Regions from separate parts of the Homo sapiens genome. Here region 2 is linked to region 1. Evidence: promoter capture Hi-C in 16 types of primary human blood cells and fetal thymus (Javierre and others, 2016). All regions are on one chromosome and are shown on one strand. The core of a region is centred on a gene start or on the middle of the fragment in contact, and the rest is flanking DNA. Distances in the headings are between cores, read along the strand shown.

Evidence for each region. The method cuts DNA at HindIII sites, captures the fragments that hold promoters and counts their contacts. A CHiCAGO score of 5 or more calls a contact.
Region 2: a fragment that was not itself captured here is called in contact with the fragment with the promoter of DCTN6 in region 1 in 2 of 17 cell types (M0 macrophages and naive B cells); the score reaches 10.7 in M0 macrophages.

What each region holds. Positions count from the first base shown.
Region 1 is chr8:30,155,116-30,157,861 of GRCh38, reverse strand. It overlaps DCTN6 (dynactin subunit 6), which reads right to left and starts at 1,493. Exons shown (of 7, transcript NM_006571.4): 1 at 1,456-1,493. The coding sequence starts at 1,478. DCTN6-DT (DCTN6 divergent transcript) reads left to right here and starts at 1,202. Exons shown (of 1, transcript NR_186490.1): 1 at 1,202-2,033. LOC124901927 (a long non-coding RNA gene) reads left to right here. Exons shown (of 2, transcript XR_007060880.1): 2 at 1-690. RefSeq lists a silencer at 1,123-1,232 and enhancers at 1,293-1,442, 1,386-2,368, 2,193-2,402. The HindIII fragment of the contact is 1,330 bases long and covers 277-1,606 here.
Region 2 is chr8:29,338,122-29,340,965 of GRCh38, reverse strand. It overlaps DUSP4 (dual specificity phosphatase 4), which reads left to right. Exons shown (of 4, transcript NM_001394.7): 2 at 723-868; 3 at 2,465-2,684. Among named protein-coding and RNA genes, the nearest start is that of DUSP4, 11 kb to the left of the region's middle. RefSeq lists an enhancer at 460-754. The HindIII fragment of the contact is 1,897 bases long and covers 501-2,397 here.

The DNA.
Region 1 (2,746 bases), core at 244-2,743:
GTATCTACTTAAATGGAAGAAAAATCTACATTTTAATTTATGGCACCAGAAACAATGTCAGTTTTCTTTGTCAAAAATAGTCAGCAGAGGGAGCTCAACACTGCTGCTGTTCGAAATGGCTTTACTTATGCACTTGTCTCATCCCAGCCACCAACAGCCACCAACAGCCCCCAGCAATGAAGACTACCGGAGAAGAAGCCAAACTTCCTGTCCCCACATGTTTACAAAGGAGCTTGTCCACTCCACGCCTGGCAAAAAATGTCACAGTTCTAAGCTTATACACTATTGGTGGGAATATAAATTAGTTCATCTATTGAAAATAGTATGGTGATTTCTCAAAGGACTAAACACAAGTACCATTGGACCCAGCAATCCATATAGAGCTACCAATCCAAACGGAACTACCATTCGACCCAGGATCTACTCAAAGGAAACCATTGTATTAAAAAGACAACTGCACTCCTATGACTATCACTGTACTATTCACAATAGCAAAGTATGGAATCAACCTAAGTGTTCATCAACGGATGACTGGATAAAGGAAATGTGGTGTATCTATACGATGGAATACTACAGAGCCATCAAAAAGAAAGGAAACATGTCTTTTGCAACAACATGGATGGAACTGGAGGCCATTACCTTACGCGATAACTCAGAAATAAAATCAAATGCACATGTTCTCACTTTTAAGTGGGAGCTAAAATGAGTACACATAAACATAAAGAGGGAAATAACAGACACTGGGGACTCTAAAAGCAGCGAGGGTAGGAGGGGTTTGAGGGCTGAAAAATTACCCATCTGATACAATGTTCACTATTTGGGTGGTAAGTACACTAGAAGCCAACTTCACCATTACGCAATTTATCTATGCAACAAATCTGCGCAAGTACTCCTTGCATCTATATAATGTGTGTGTGTGTGTGTCACAGTTCAAGTCCAGGCGCGGCCCCCCTTTTGACAGCGACCGTAAATCCCTTTACACACCCCACCCTCCAGAGACAGGAAGGGCCTGGGGTGCGGCCAGCACTGGCGTGGGGGTCTCGCAACATGCAGCAGAGAATCCAGCGCCAAGCCGTGGGGTACAGCGGCGCCAAGCACCGCCGATTATGCGGGAGAAGGGAGCCGGCCTTCCCCAGGAAAAAGCTGACGTCACCCTCCCCTCACAGCCCCCCCCGCCCTCCCGGCCGGGAGACCCCCTCTGCGCAGGCGCATGTGGGGAGGGACGGCCAGACAGGAACAAAAACCTTCCAGGCAGCGACTCCGCGTCCCTTCTCAACCCTCCCCGCCCCCACTCCGTCGCCCCCTCCCTCAGTGGACGCCAGGTCTGGGCTTCAGGTACCTTCGGCCCGAATGCCCAGGATGAGACACCTTCTGAGTCGCCACCATTGGCGACCAGGAACAGGTTCCACCCCTACGGAAAGCTGAGAAAAGGCTTTTCTCAAGCAGCAAACCCACCTCTTTTGAGTCTTCTCCGCCATGGTACGGCCCCAATTGGAACGTAGATCGACACCACCGCCTGGGTAGAGCGATAATTCCACATGCGATTGGAGAGCCTGGCAGGGTTGGGGGAGGGGCGGAGCCGGGGTGGGGCGGGGACCCGGAAGCTTGCGACTCTTGTTTGCGTCGCGTCTGGGCGCACAGGACTGTACTTTTGGTAGCGGTGCGGGGCCGCCCGCGGACTTTAGCCCTGCATAGAGATGGGTAGACCCTAATTTGGAACAGCCATTGACTGGGCACAGGCCAGCACTTTGGGAGGCCGAGAGGCCGAGGCAGGAGGATCGCTTGAGGCCAGGAGTGCCAGACTGCGAGACTAGCCTGGGTAACATAGTGAGACCCTCTCTTCAAAAAAAAAAAAAAAAAAAAAAAAAAAAAGCCTGTCACGGTGGCCTGCGCCTGTACCCCAGCTACTCGAGAGGATCGCCTGAGCCCAGTGAAGCTGCAGCGAGCTGTGAGGATGCCACCGCACTCCGGCCTGGGCTAAAAAGCTAGATCGTGTCTCTGATAAAAGAATAAAAGCTGTTTATTGCAATCCAGTCCGCGTCATTATGCCCTCATTTTACCCACTCGCGTAGGCGTAATTACACCCTAAAGGTATTTCTCTGACCTCGCCGATGTCCTTTTCAGCCTGTCTTTCTCTACTCATTAGGGCTCCTTCTGGCCCTTTTCTCGCTCTATATGAGTGCATCCTTCCTATAGGTTAAGTGCCCTCTACCTGTTTGCTCTCTAATGAATGTCTCTGGTTCTGCCCTCTGTGCCGATCTTCACACCTGACATTCGGTTGACTAATTGACATCTCCGCTCAGAGTCGTATCGAACCTAAAACTTACAGAACATGACTTTCGATTAACACTGCCGTCCTCCCTGCAACCTGCTGCTTTTTTGATCCACACCATTTGCCTAGCTGCTCAAGCCAGACACTCAAGAGTCACCCTGGCACTCCTCACCCCTACATCTGTAATAGATCTGCAAGTTCTGCTTGTCCTACCTCGGGTCTCATGCTTACACTTTTGTCTACCGGACCATCTCTCTAATCTCAGCCGATGTGTCTCTCCCAGTTGTTCACTCATTCTGTACTTGGCCTCTGAAATCACACCTCCTCATCTCCCACCCCCAACCCTGATCCAAGTAGTTCTCTTGTAGTCAAAATCATCCTTTAAAAGACAAATTGAGGCCAGGCGCGTGGCTCAAACCGGTAATCCCAGCACTTTGGGGGGCCGAGATGGGAGGATCGCTTGAGGCCAGGAGT
Region 2 (2,844 bases), core at 200-2,699, 820 kb after region 1:
TCAGCTGGCCATTTATCATCATCTTCTTTTTTTATTTAAAAGATCTCCCTTCTCTGGAAGATGATCCCACAGATAACCATTCCAGGGCTTACCCACTCTCAGGTCAGGAAATACTCCCTTGCCCCAAACCTGTACATAGCATGAGGGGTTTATTTAGATTTAAGCCCGTTTTCCTCTTGTTCTGGTCTCTTGGTGACGGAACAGCTATTCATGAGGACGTGCAATGGACATCTGTTCCATTGCTGAGATCCAGAAGAGTTTGTACCAGGGTCATTTTTTCCCTTCTTTCTCACATTGGAGAACCTCCCCTGAGGAAGGGCTGGAATCAGGGGTGGCAGGTGTCTCTACAGGTACTTAGTGTCCTTGGAAGCCCAGCGTGACCTTTGCTTCTCTATTTTGTCATTGTCCTGAGGAGCTACTCCACAGTCACTTCTGCACATCCCCCTGCACGTCTTCCTTTGTATGTCTACCTCTCTAACCCAAGTCTTGTCCATAAAGCTTATCCTTCCAGCTTTGCTGCAGTCCTGACGAGTGTGTCCTCTGCATCTCTGGAAACCACTCCATGGCCATTCTCTAGGTCCACAGCGCCACCTAGTGGCCAATATGGAGCACGCCAGCCCCTGCCTTCCTAGCAGTCCGCCTGAGTCTGTAGGAGTCGAGTTCTTTCTGACTTCCTGCTGGCTTAGTGACCCCATTAACCTGAGCTTCTTTCTCCTTTACAGGCGGCTATGAGAGGTTTTCCTCCGAGTACCCAGAATTCTGTTCTAAAACCAAGGCCCTGGCAGCCATCCCACCCCCGGTTCCCCCCAGTGCCACAGAGCCCTTGGACCTGGGCTGCAGCTCCTGTGGGACCCCACTACACGACCAGGTAGACTCGGGGGGCAGGGCTTGGAAGTGGGGGGCAGGAACAGCGTAGGGGCCAGTGGATGCCTTCTTTTCAGAGTTCTGACGGTGTTTTTTGTCTTTGCTTTTGAGACAGTCTTGCTCTGTCACCCAGGAGTGCAGTGGTGTGATCATAGCTTACTGCAGCCTCGAACTCCTGGGCTCAAGGGATCCTCCCTGGTAGCTGGGACTACAGGTGGCACTACCATGCCTGGCTAATTTTAAAAGGTTTTTGGTAGAGATGGGGGGGGGGGGTCTTGCTATGTTGCCCAGGCTGGTCTTGAACTCCTGGCCTCAAGTGATCCTCCTGCTTTGGCCTCCCAAAGTGTTGGGATCACAGGCGTGAGCCACTGCATCCAATCCTGAGATTTTTTTAAGTCTTTGAATGTTATGCCTCAATTTGGGGAGAATGCGGTGAACCCGGAGTATTGGGGTGGGATGTTAGGTAGGACCTATTTACTTCTTGGAAATCTTCCCCTTCCCTCTCTAAATATCCTCCTAAGAAAAAAGTCTAAAGACATGACTCCCTGGCTTGGCCTCTAACGTCGTGTCCGGACAAGTGAGGAGGCCTCCAGAAGCCCTGGGGGACCTGCTCTCTGGGAAGCTGAGGTCATTCTCCTCTGAAGTAGCAGGCCATGAAATACATCTCAGTCCCCGACAGGCAGGCTGCTCCCACGTATCAGCCGAATGAACATAGATGGTCACCCACCCTCCCTCCAAGAAAACCTGCTTGAGCCACTGTGTTTCTTATAAGCCCACCCTCCAGCCCTTTCAGTTAGATGGACTCTGCTGCCCACATCTCATGTGCTAAATTTAAGCCACTGTTGCCTCATTTTGCCAAGATCCTCTCTCTTGTCTGTGTGGCCATGAGGGCATCAGCTTATTTATTTGTTTATTTTTAGAGACAGAGTCTCACTCTGTTACCCAGGCTTGAGTCCTGTGGCGCAATCATAGCTCACTGCAGCTTCAAAGTCCTGGGCTCAAATGATCCTCCCATTTCAGCCTCCCAAGCAACTGAGACTACAGGTGTGCACCATCATGCCAGCTTCATTGTTTGAGAGATGAGGTCTCACTGTGTTGCCCATGCTGGTCTTGGAACTCCTGGCTCACATGATCCTGCCACCTCAGCCTCCTAAAGTGCTGAGATTACAGGTGTGAGCCACTGCACACCTGTTTTTGATATGCCCAGTGAATACATATCAAAACAAATAAGTATCTAAACCACACAGCAAATGGCTTGATGATTAGCAGATATAAACTCAGTGTCACAGATGGTGCCATAAGGCCGGCATTGTCCTGCCGCTTATTTTGCCATGGGGGAGGTGCAGGAGAGTCCCACAAGACTTTACCTGCCCTGGCCTCTCTGCTCACAAGTAGAGGGCAAAGGCTGGAGAAGTCCCACTGGGCCTATCACCCCTCCAAGAGTTCCAGGAGGCTACAGGGGGAGGCTGGGAGGGCCAGGCCCAGCAGGCATTCTCCCTGGGTTTGGAAAGGAAAGCTCTTCTCAGACAAGCTTCCACTCCCTGTGCCAAGCACTTTACCCTCATGTCATTCAGGGGCCTTTGTTTCCCTTTCTGTGCAGGGGGGTCCTGTGGAGATCCTTCCCTTCCTCTACCTCGGCAGTGCCTACCATGCTGCCCGGAGAGACATGCTGGACGCCCTGGGCATCACGGCTCTGTTGAATGTCTCCTCGGACTGCCCAAACCACTTTGAAGGACACTATCAGTACAAGTGCATCCCAGTGGAAGATAACCACAAGGCCGACATCAGCTCCTGGTTCATGGAAGCCATAGAGTACATCGGTAGGCTGGCCCTGCTCTGGGGTTCCTGGGTTTGAGGGCGGGTGGGAAGGATAAGGAACCCCTGTAAGCCTGGGTTGAAGGTGGACATTGGAGGCACTGAATCCAAGGGTCCCCATTCCCCCTCTTCCTCATTGGGAAGGCTTATACATTGGATGTTGGG